Linked DNA regions of Homo sapiens: regions 2, 3 and 4 are each linked to region 1. Evidence: promoter capture Hi-C in 16 types of primary human blood cells and fetal thymus (Javierre and others, 2016). All regions are on one chromosome and are shown on one strand. Each heading gives the region's core, a stretch centred on a gene start or on the middle of the fragment in contact. The rest is flanking DNA. Distances are from core to core; before and after follow the strand shown. Region 1 holds the start of IFIT1B (interferon induced protein with tetratricopeptide repeats 1B). Region 2 overlaps KIF20B (kinesin family member 20B). Region 3 overlaps FAS (Fas cell surface death receptor). Region 4 overlaps FAS (Fas cell surface death receptor).

Region 1 (2,700 bases), core at 21-2,520:
GTTTCTGAGTCAGCAGGTTTAGGGTAGGGCCTGAGAATTTGCATTTCTGCTACCTTCCCAAGTGATGCTGATGTTGCTAGTCAGGGGACCACACTTTGAGAACAGTTAATTCAGTGAAAAGCAAATTTCATAGTAATCACAATTTCATAGTTTCACAGTAATCACAAAATTTGACTTGGTATCAAAAACAAACAAACAACAGAAAAACAGCCATCTCTGAAAGTAGCTTCTTTTTCCCACGTGAATTTAACCAATTTATCAAATAAAAATAGCTGCTTCTTCTCACCTGGATGCCTAAAAGAGTATTTTGTATATTAAAAGGATCTCAATGCTCTTGCCCTGACTGGTCCCCGGGCCAGTCTCCTCTCTAGGCTCAGGCCTCTGTTCCCTGGTGAACAGTCTTTAAGTGTTGCCTGGGTAATTGTCCCTCTATTAGAAAGTGCTACAGAAATGACATCTTTGGAAATAAGATTGCTTTCTCGTTTATTTCCTTAAGAGCATTGCTGCTTTTATTAAGCCAGCTACCCTTACTAAGCGAGCTCTGTAACAGGAGTTAGGAAACTTGCCTCTACATATATTCTCATCTTGCCCCTCTGAATCTACTTTCCTACATTCTTCACCATGCTCTGTGCTTGGAAGCTGACTCTATGGACTTTATTAACTCCAAAACTCTTTTATTTTTTACTTTCTACTGGGGTTGGCCCACTGGGGAGCACCAGCCAGATATTAAATTGCAGGAGGAGGTGAAGGTCATGGAATTAATTCCTAAGCTCCCACTGTGCTCTGCTTGAGGTTGTCAGTGATTTTTTCACCAAAGGCCTCTTGAGAAGCCCCTCCCCTACAGCTATAGCTTAGAGTCTCCTTGGGTCTGGTTCTCTCCTCTTGCTCCTGTAGGCCCAGGGTTATCATGTTACCACTGTTGTAAACCAACACGCCTCTTCCCGCTGCCCTGCAACCAACAAGCACCATTTCCTGTTGATTTCCCTAAACTTTGCCCATATCGTCTTAAATAGCCCCCTTATTAAACTCTTCTTGGTTATCATGTTGAGGGTGCCTATCAGGGTCAGAACCACCAGTGGGACAGCTCCCTTAGGAGAAGGCCTGTCAAAAAATTGGCCCTTAAGGAAAGTTTTAGAATTTCAAAGTGTGCAGAAATAAGGTCAGTGAAGCAGAGAAAGACTTTACCTCATGGTGCTATGAAGATAGCAGGTGATCTGTAGTGCTTTGGTTCAGGCTTGGAGGCTCCTTCAAGGTTCATCCACAGAGTTCTAGGGCTTCTCAGATAAGCATGGTGCTTATATATGGGAGGTATATCCAGGCAGTTTTTTACACCCTTGATGCCTAGTGAATTGGCAGGGTGAAAATGATACAGAGGAATAGGGCTGTCTCTGCTTTGATTACAAATACATGCTGAGTTTTGGCAGCTAAGAGGATGGGTGTGTGAGAAGCAGTTTTGATACGCAAATTCCCTTGCTGGAGTCAATGTGGTGTAGGAGATAGAGGGTAACTGGACTTTATGATGACATTCAGTGTTGTGGAAAAACCAGTGGCAGACAGGAACGTATATTTTTGTGAATCATGTCAGACTCTGTTGTCAAACTTGTTACTATCACATGTATCCCGCCAGGTGGTTCCAGGGACGTCTACAATGGAAGCTCCTTAGACCAGGGTCAGTGGTTTGTGCCTAAAAGAATACTGTAGAAAGTCATTGTCAATTTGTGGAAGAATGAGGTTGCAGATGGTTAGGTCTTCTTCTGTGGGGCTGTGTTAGGCAAAACAACTCCTCAATTTTGAGATATTGGTCTATAAGAAGGGTCCCATACTGGTTACATCCTCCAGCAGCATTTGCATTACTGCCAACCCTGGCTATAGTGGAGCCTATTCAAGCATATTGACTGTTTTGATGATCTTTACTGTTCACCATTAGTGGTTCAAACAACAATGTTTGAGCTGGTCAGTAGAGAAACATATGCAATGTAGTCAGAGAATGTGATGGGGTCATGGGGGTTAAAAATCTAAATCCAAATTCACATAGTTCTTCTGAGTTGTCCTTATGTTTCTTCTGTTTCTACTATTTTGAAGATTATCTGTTACAAAGCAACAACCATCAGAGAGTCAATCAAACAATGTTCACATGTTTAATGAAAAATTTATATGATCCCAAGGCTGATGTAATTGCCCACACAATTAGCAGAGAAAAAGGAAAATTTGGAAAGCTGCTATTCTGAATTCCTCTTGTGAATTGTTACAATGTCATCCTGTACGTTTCTGGATCTTGGTTTTGTAGGGGTAGTGCACCAAGATAAGCAAAAGGGCAAAGACTGAGAGCGATTTCCCTCTGAGTGAGCATTTCAAGGTAGGGTTATTAACTTCATTACAGTCTTCTCATAATTACCAAATGAAACTGTAGCCTCGCTGTGCTATTTCTTCTTTGTCCTGGGCCTGTAACTAGACTATATTTCCCAGGCTCCCATGTGGTAAGGTGTGGTCATGGGCATGGGATGGGAGGCTGTCAGGAAGCAGAAATGATTCTATAATTGGGTATCTTAAATTGTGTCTGGAAAAAGAGAAGACTAGACCAAGGTGACAGGTGTAATTTGAAAGGAAGCAGCAGTCATTCATATTGGCCAGTTTAAGGGGCTGCTTGATTATTTTCGAATCCAGTTGGAAAATATTCGTATTTTTGTCTGCACTCAGACC
Region 2 (2,700 bases), core at 199-2,698, 330 kb before region 1:
TTGATAGTTTTACTACCAGAAAGTTTTCAAGATAGAAATCTGTACCAGGGAATCAAGTATTCACCTAAGTTTTGAAAAGAATATTTCTTAAAAATATATTAATAATAACTTTAATAAAAATATAGTAATAATAACTTTAATAACACTACAGTGATCTCTTTACATCCAATTATATATTTCCAGACCTGAGATTTGAGTCTTATCCTTAAAATCTAAGTTGCATAAGCATAAAATGTATAGTTCATTATATACAATTATATAGCAATTTAGCCTAAGCCAAGTCTCTTTATCTTTAAAACAAAAAACAAAAACACTTCAGTTTTACCTTGGAAAAACTGAATTTCTGTGCCATCTGCCCTGAGCTTTTTTCACTTAACCGACCAAGGATGCATTGAGGCTCTTTCAGCACAACAGTCTGTGAATCCAGAATATGCACACAGCCCTAGAAAACATACCCCCAATAAATAAAAACTAGTATTTTGCCATTTTAAATGAAAGTAAAATATTAAAATTCTATTAAATTCAACACAAACCTCAGACTCAAGTTCTTTTTCTGACTGTGTAAATGGTCTTATTCGAAGACAAACCTGGAGATAATCTTTAGATTCGAAACTGTTTGCCTTAAAAAATAAAGGAGAAAAACATTGTGTTTTTGAAAGATACGGCTTTTCAGAGACCATTTTTCCTTAACATGGCTACTTTTTACATAATAATCTGAGATGATAAAGAATTTCTAAGCAGTCACTATCCTGCTTTTAATAATGTTAGAAAAACTCAATAAATCTATTTAAATAAAAACAAAATACACCAAAAAAGATCCAATTTCCTCCATCTCCTGTATTTATACGTGAAGTTTATAAAAAGGCTTTATTCCACAAAAGCCTAATATAATTAATGAGGCCCTAAGTCATTGGAAAATATAACTCTAGAATAAATCAAAAGTAACTAGAATATTCTATTATTCAAATGCTCAATTCCATGAGGTATTCAGAATTTTTTTACTATGTACCATTCTCCTTGTTACTTTTTCTGAGGAAGAAATGTGCATAGAAAATGTAATTTTAAAGAAATGTTTTAATGTTTTTTTAAAAAAGTAAAAAGGAAACAACTTGATAAATGCAACTTAATCAAAACAGACATAACTAGAAAATCTGAATAACCCAATTTCTATGAAGCAAACTGAATCCATTTTCAAACAAAATAATGCCACAAAAAAAAAAATTCAGGCCCTAGTAGTTTAACAGTAAATTCTATCAAACATTTAAGAAAATGATCAGGCCAGGAGCGGTGGCTCATGCCTGTAATCCCAACACTTTGGGAGGCCGAGGCGGGTGGATCACCTGAGGTCGGGAGTTCGAGACCAGCCTGACCAACATGGAGAAACCCCATCTCAACTAAAAATACAAAATTAGCCAGGCATGGTGGTGCATGCCTGTAATCCCAGCTACTTGGGAGGCTAAGGCAGGAGAATCGCTTGAACCTGGGAGGCAGAGATTGCGGTGAGCCAAGATGGCGCCATTGCACTCCAGCCTGGGCAACAAGAGCAGAACTCCGTCTCAAAAAAAAAAAAAATACAAATTGTACATAAACTCTTTAAGAAAATATAGGAAGAGAAAATACCTTAACTAATTTTGAGTTTGACATAAGCCGAATAACACAATTGACAAAGATATCCTCAGGAAAAAATTAGAAAACAAAATACCACATTAAGATATACGCAAAATTTCCCACACAAAATACTAGCCAATATATAAAACAGGATAATACATCTGACCAAGAATGGTTTATTCTAGGAATATAAAGTCTGTTTAGCATTCAAAAATCAATCCAGGCAATTAACCATATTAAAAGAATAAATGAAGAGAAACTTTTATCTCTACAGATGGGAAAACAGCATTTGACAAAATCCAACGTCCATCTGTAATAAAAATTCTCAGCAAAGTGTAATGAATGCAAACTTCCTCATCCTGATAAAGGGCACTTACAAAAAATCTATCGCTAACAACAAACTTAACAGGAAAGACTCAATCTAAGATGAGCAGCAAAATGAGTAATAAGAAGAGGATTTCTGCTTCCCCACTTCTAGTAACATTGTATTAAAGGTTCTAGCTGGTGTAATTGGGTGTGAAGGGGGAAAGGGGATGGGGGAAGAAAAAAGGAGGGGTAAGGGAAAGAAAAAGGGAAGAGAAAAGGAAAGGAAAAAGAAAGGTAAAAGGGAAGGGAAGAAGGGAAAGAAAGAAGTGGAGGGGAGAGGAGGGGAAAGAAAAGGAAAAAAAAAATGGAAAGAAAAAAAGGAAATGAAAAGACAAAAGTCATCCAAATTGGGAAGGAAGAAATAAAATTTTCTTTATTTAGAAACAACATGAACATACGCATACAAAATCCAACAAATCTACAAAAAATTAATGTATACTAACAAAATGCTAATCAGAGGTTACTTGGAGGTGTGATGGGAGGGAGCACTTACAAGGAGCCTCAAGGAAACTTTTGAGGGTAATGGTTATACTCACTATCTTGACTGTAGTGACAGTTACATAAGTGTATGCACATGTCAAAACTTATCAAACTGCGTATCTAAAATATATGCAGTGTTTCATTATGCCTAAATAAAGCAACTAAAAATATTTACAATAGCATCAAATAACATAAAATGTTTATAAATATATTTGACAAAAGACACGAAAGGCCTCTACATTGACA
Region 3 (2,719 bases), core at 92-2,591, 360 kb after region 1:
GGAAAAAAAATTACAGATTACCTACAAAGGAATGATATTTACACCAAGAGCAGACATAATCAACAGCAACAGATGTTAAGAAAACATGGTTTAATATTTTTAAAGTGCTGAGGAAAATTACAAATGGCCTTGTATAGAATTCTAAACCCAAACAAATTACCAATCAGGAGTAAGCATAGAAAAAAATTCTAAATTTCATTGATTATATACCTTATTCAGATAGTTGTACAGAAACTGATGATTCAATATCTAAAAAGTGTCTGATCTAATCAGAGGTCAGAAGACCCTGTGGGCATGCCAATAAAGAAGACCAAGATGTTTGAATATGCAATGCTTTCAATGTGATCTGTGAGCTCCTTCTGCAAATAGCCTTTTTTTCTGCAGCTCATGGGTGACCTTTGGGTGATTCTCCTACCCAGTATGCCCACCACAAAGAGAACCAGGTTCACCAGAATGAGGATGATTCTGGACCGTGGGGTCACCTCAACTCGGGAATGTGGCTGTGCTCATTGACATGGGAGAAGTCATGCTTGGGGCCACTAGGTGAAGCCATGAGGAAAAAAACCACATCACCAAGTACAAAGACTTCTCCACTGTCTTCCTCCCAAAGGAACTCAAAGTTCTTGCTCTGAGTTCACCAAAGTGGAATAGGGTGTTCTCTAACTTAATCTTGTCTTGCAAAGTAGAACTTGCACTTCTGGCCATGAAGAATAACTAGTACCTAACTTGCCCTACTTCTGTCTAGAAATAGAAAACTGGAGAGCAGACAGCACAGACTATGATGGCTCAGAAAAGAGAAATTAATGAGTGAACCCTGTGATCACTCAGACTTTCTGCCTAAAGACACTTTCCAGACCATAACACAGGAGGGAACCCTAAGCAAAGCACAACTATCTTACCGACATGCTTACATGTTGAAATGCTAATACTTTGGGACTCATGGGTTAAATAGAATATATTACTAGCATTAAATTGCAGAAAAGAAAGGTGGCCCACTGGCCAGCATGTAGCTAGAATGGATAATATGCAGGAAAGAATATTTCAAAATCCTCATTTGGCTTTCTTAATAATAAAACCTACCCCTTGAAATGTATACTTTCTTATCCACATTCCAGTATCTGGAATACGAAACTGTTTGACGAATAATCATGTGCTGTTTGGAAGAGGTCTTCTTGGCAATAGCAACCTATGGAAATAATTATTTAACTACTAAAAGGGTTAAGGTTAAAAAGGAAGTACCTTCTAAGGGATCCAAGAAGCATTAAAGACAAGTTATATTTAGCATCAGTTAGAGAAAAGGAAGACAAAACCAAAAAGCAAGCCCCTACCAAAAAAGAGAAAACCAGAAATACCAAAAACATTATTTAATTACGTACTTTTACCTATATTTTATAATTCCAAACACAAGGGGCAAAAAAATCCTCCATAAATGGAAGTTCTTTAGGTGGTTCCAGGTATCTGCTTCAGTTTATAACTATCTTCACAGTTTACATTTACAGAAATATAAATATTATTTCTTAAAATTCACATTTAATACAAACTTTCAAAGATATTTAAACGTAGGATAGTAGTAAGGAGAATCTTAAATCTTAGAAACTTGGGGGTATGACAAGAGCAATTCCTAAATCCAGATGATGATTTTACCATTGCTATGTATAAGCTGCCATTTGTAGCAGGTTTTACATGGGACATTATTGAACATTTTCGGGGGTGGGGGAAAAATAAGAATCTATTTTATCATCTTTGATTGCAAACATGGGTTCATGACATGTCACAAAGCTACTTTCTCTGAGAGCAGTTAGTATCTCCAAACCAGGCTAGAATTTCTAAGGGCAGTCTTGCCTTTTGGTGGACTATTAAGTATTTTTTGGTGATATTTCCATGTTTGGGGGTGCATTAGGCCATTAAGATGAGCACCAAGGCAAAAATGGAGAGGTGGCAAAGCTCTAGTAATACTCTCCTGCTCAAAATGCTTTTGATGCCTGAGAAAGAAGTAGGTAGTTTTGAGCCAGTAAAATGCATACACATATATAATAGTCAAACATTATAATTTAATGTTTTCTATGTGAATTCACAATTGAAATATTGTATAATATGACACCAATAAACTGTGCAAAGGTCTTTGAGGTAGAGCCTTATTTAAATTCTGCACTCAAATACATATACTTTACATAAATATGATCTTCTCAGAGTTATAAACAAAGTTTAGAAATATGGTAAAATCTCTAGAATTATCAGAGGTAATTTAGAGGCAAAGTGGCCTGCCTGTTCAGTAACTGATATTTCAGCAAAAGGTCATAGCTTCTTCTATTGATTCATAGAGTGGGGTTAGCCTGTGGATAGACATTTGTACTAACATACACTGATTACATTCATACTACAGAATCATATGTTAGATGCCAGAGCATAATCTTAATCTTTCATCCTCTGCATACACTCCTATTTGGGTACTTAGCATGCCACTGCATTTACTCTTGATGAAGTTTGTTTTCCCAACTAGATTTTAAACATCCTTGGAGGCAGAATCATGAGATATTAAAAATCTACAAATATGTTGGCTCTTCAGCGCTAATAAATGATAAAATGTACCCAGTAAAAAACCAAGCAGTATTTACAGCCAGCTATTAAGAATCTTTTCAAACACTAATTGCATATACTCAGAACTGAATTTGTTGTTTTTCACTCTAGACCAAGCTTTGGATTTCATTTCTGAAGTTTG
Region 4 (2,700 bases), core at 119-2,618, 380 kb after region 1:
GATGTGCACCACCAGGCCCAGCTAATTTTTGTGTTTTTAGTAGAGACGGGGTTTCACCATGTTGGCCAGATGGTCTCAATCTCTCGACCCCGTGATCCGCCTGCCTCGGCCTCCCAAAGTGTTGGGATTACAGGCGTGAGCCACCATGCCCGGCCGAATTTTTTTTTGTAAAGGGGAGTGTTGACACCAGCAAAGCATCCAGTTAGCTTCTAAAATTTTAAACAATTAAACTAAATGTTGGTATCTCATTATATTTACAATTTAGAGCAGAAAGGACTTTATAGATGACCTAGCCCAAACCCCTTTTCTGATAGAGATGGCAGTATCCCAACTGGTGAAGTGACTGGCCCACAGTCATGCATCTAGCAAAGGAGATTCAGGACTGTCATGGGCTAAACTGTGTCCTCCCCCAACTCCCAAATTCATATAGTGATACTGATACCCTAACTTCCTGAGCATCCGAATGTGACTGTATCAGGAGATAGGGTCTTTACAGAGGTGATTAAGTTAAAATGGTGTTAATAGGGTAAGCCTTAATCCAATGTGACTGGTGACATTTTAAGAAGAGGAAATTTGGTATATACAACTTCCAGAGCTCTTGTATTTGGAAGGCCGGAAGGGTCCAGACTTTGGAAGAGTGTCTTGGCTTCACTGTTTTTGTTTTGATTTTTTTTTTTTTTTGCTTTTTTTTAACTAAAGCTATATAAAGCTTGTAGACAGTATAAATTTCTAAATTAAAAAAAAAGAAGAGGAAATTTGGACACACATACAAACAGAGGAAGATAATGTGAAGACACATGGAAAAGAAGGCCATCTACAAGCCTGAACAGATCCTGCCCTCGTGGTCCTCAGAAGGAACCAGTCCAGTTGGCACCTTGATATCAGACTTCTAGCCCCCAAAACTGTAGCCACCCAGTTGGCAGTCCTAAGAATTTAATATAAGGAATGAACTATAGTCTCTTGATTCTCTTGGATTCTTGATTTGTGAGACATTAGTGTTACATATAAACTTGGGATCCCTCACAGCTGAGCCCAAGAATTTCCCATCTTGGATGATCACTGAGCTAAATAGGCAAGAGATTTCCCATGGTCTTCAGAACTAGAATTAGCAGGTGCCAATATGAACTAGAGCTACTTCTTTCCAGACTTATTGGTCCTGCTAGGCTGGGTTGAAATCTCACCACCCTCTACTGCTGAGGACAAAAATGGAGCAAGAAATGAAGTTCCACCGACTAATTCTGCTTGTCTGCTTGTAGACTTTCAGTTACTTATCAACACTTGAGGAAAAAGAAATTCTAAAAGACTAATAGTTTATTATTGAATAGTTTAAAATTTCCAATAAGATAATGCATCTCTAATATATCTGTGTAAAAAACAGGGATATAGTGATGTCATCTTGTCCTACTACATTATTGAAAACCTGAAATAGAAGTAAAATAAATTTTTCTACATGGAAGAGATAAGCAAAGATCCCATTCATTTGTATGTTTTTCAAAATCTGTACATAAAAATACACATGGTAATCTTATCCCAGGGATGTCCTCTTTCTTTCTTAAAGCCAATCTCTGGAAAGTCCAGGACAGAGGTAGTTGAAGCAACAGTTGCAAGTTACTGATTAGATCCATGACTGGCCAAGCCATAAATAAAATAAAATGAATGAGCCTAGGAAATTCCATCTGAAATTACATTTTGAGTTTAGTGCTAGAGTCAGAAAAATAGTTCTCAAGACCCCGACAGACATCAGAATCCTGTAGTGATGCATTATTTAATAAAAAGTGCTAAGGCCCCTACATAGACCTAAGGAATCAGGATCTCTGAGAATGGGGAAGTACCCTTGGTGATTTTGAGGTTCATCACAGTTGCAGGGCAACTAGGTTAGAGGAAGCAGAATCTGAGGTTAGCAGGTTACTACATTTACATGTGAGAATATAAGAGTTTTATAGACTAATGGCATCTGTGTTCAGCACTTGCAAATCAGAATTTGACTTCTCATGAAGAAATAATGACCCTTCCAAAAATAAGCTTGAAGATAAGAGAAATGACCTTTGGTAGAGGAAATGGGTAATGTAAGGGCTATAGAGTCCTAAAATACAGCCCCAGAGCCCTTACAAGCCCAGAGGGGCCACGTGGGTCATACAAGAATAAAGCAACCTGGGATAAGGGACTACAGAGAGAGGGAGGGGCTTGGGACCAGCTCTGCCTGTGGCCACTACCTGTGGGCAGTATAGGCCCAGGGTTTTTTTGTATTATTTTTATTCGACAAATAAAAAAATTATATATATTTATGGTATATAACATGATGTCTTGAATTATGTACATATTTTGGAAGATAATTATGTACATATTTTGGAAGATAATTAGCTAAATCGAGCTAATTACATTGGGCATTCCTTCACATACTTATCATTTTCTTTTGTGTGTGTGTGGCGAGAACACTTAAAATCTACTCTTAGTAATTTTCAAGTATACAATACATTGTTATTAGCTATAGACATCAAGTTGTACACTAGATCTCTTGAACTTATTCCTCCTAACTGAAATTTTGTATCCTTTGACCAATATCTCCCTAAATCCCCCAACTTTGCCCCCAACTAGCCTCTGGTAACCACTATTCTACTCTCTACTTTTATGGATTCAAAACTTTTAGATTCCACATATAAACGAGATCATGCAGTATTTGTCTTTCTGTGAGTATAGGCC

The links. The method cuts DNA at HindIII sites, captures the fragments that hold promoters and counts their contacts. A CHiCAGO score of 5 or more calls a contact.
Region 2: a fragment that was not itself captured here is called in contact with the fragment with the promoter of IFIT1B in region 1 in 1 of 17 cell types (megakaryocytes); the score reaches 5.1 in megakaryocytes.
Region 3: a contact is called between a fragment that was not itself captured here and the fragment with the promoter of IFIT1B in region 1, in 1 of 17 cell types (M0 macrophages). The highest score is 6.0, in M0 macrophages.
Region 4: a contact is called between a fragment that was not itself captured here and the fragment with the promoter of IFIT1B in region 1, in 1 of 17 cell types (M0 macrophages). The highest score is 6.0, in M0 macrophages.

Annotation. Positions count from the first base shown.
Region 1 is chr10:89,376,626-89,379,325 of GRCh38, reverse strand. It overlaps IFIT1B (interferon induced protein with tetratricopeptide repeats 1B), which reads right to left and starts at 1,270. Exons shown (of 2, transcript NM_001010987.2): 1 at 1,186-1,270. The coding sequence starts at 1,190. It also overlaps a transcript of LIPA not described here. The HindIII fragment of the contact is 6,433 bases long and covers 1-2,700 here.
Region 2 is chr10:89,707,087-89,709,786 of GRCh38, reverse strand. KIF20B (kinesin family member 20B) reads right to left here. Exons shown (of 33, transcript NM_001284259.2): 3 at 534-620; 4 at 326-442. Among named protein-coding and RNA genes, the nearest start is that of KIF20B, 6.8 kb to the right of the region's middle. The HindIII fragment of the contact is 5,889 bases long and covers 1-2,700 here.
Region 3 is chr10:89,014,416-89,017,134 of GRCh38, reverse strand. FAS (Fas cell surface death receptor) reads right to left here. Exons shown (of 9, transcript NM_000043.6): 9 at 76-2,719. The coding sequence ends at 2,685. Among named protein-coding and RNA genes, the nearest start is that of FAS-AS1, 23 kb to the right of the region's middle. The HindIII fragment of the contact is 2,711 bases long and covers 1-2,696 here.
Region 4 is chr10:88,996,329-88,999,028 of GRCh38, reverse strand. The region is part of intron 1 of FAS (Fas cell surface death receptor); the gene reads right to left. Among named protein-coding and RNA genes, the nearest start is that of FAS-AS1, 4.7 kb to the right of the region's middle. The HindIII fragment of the contact is 1,313 bases long and covers 712-2,024 here.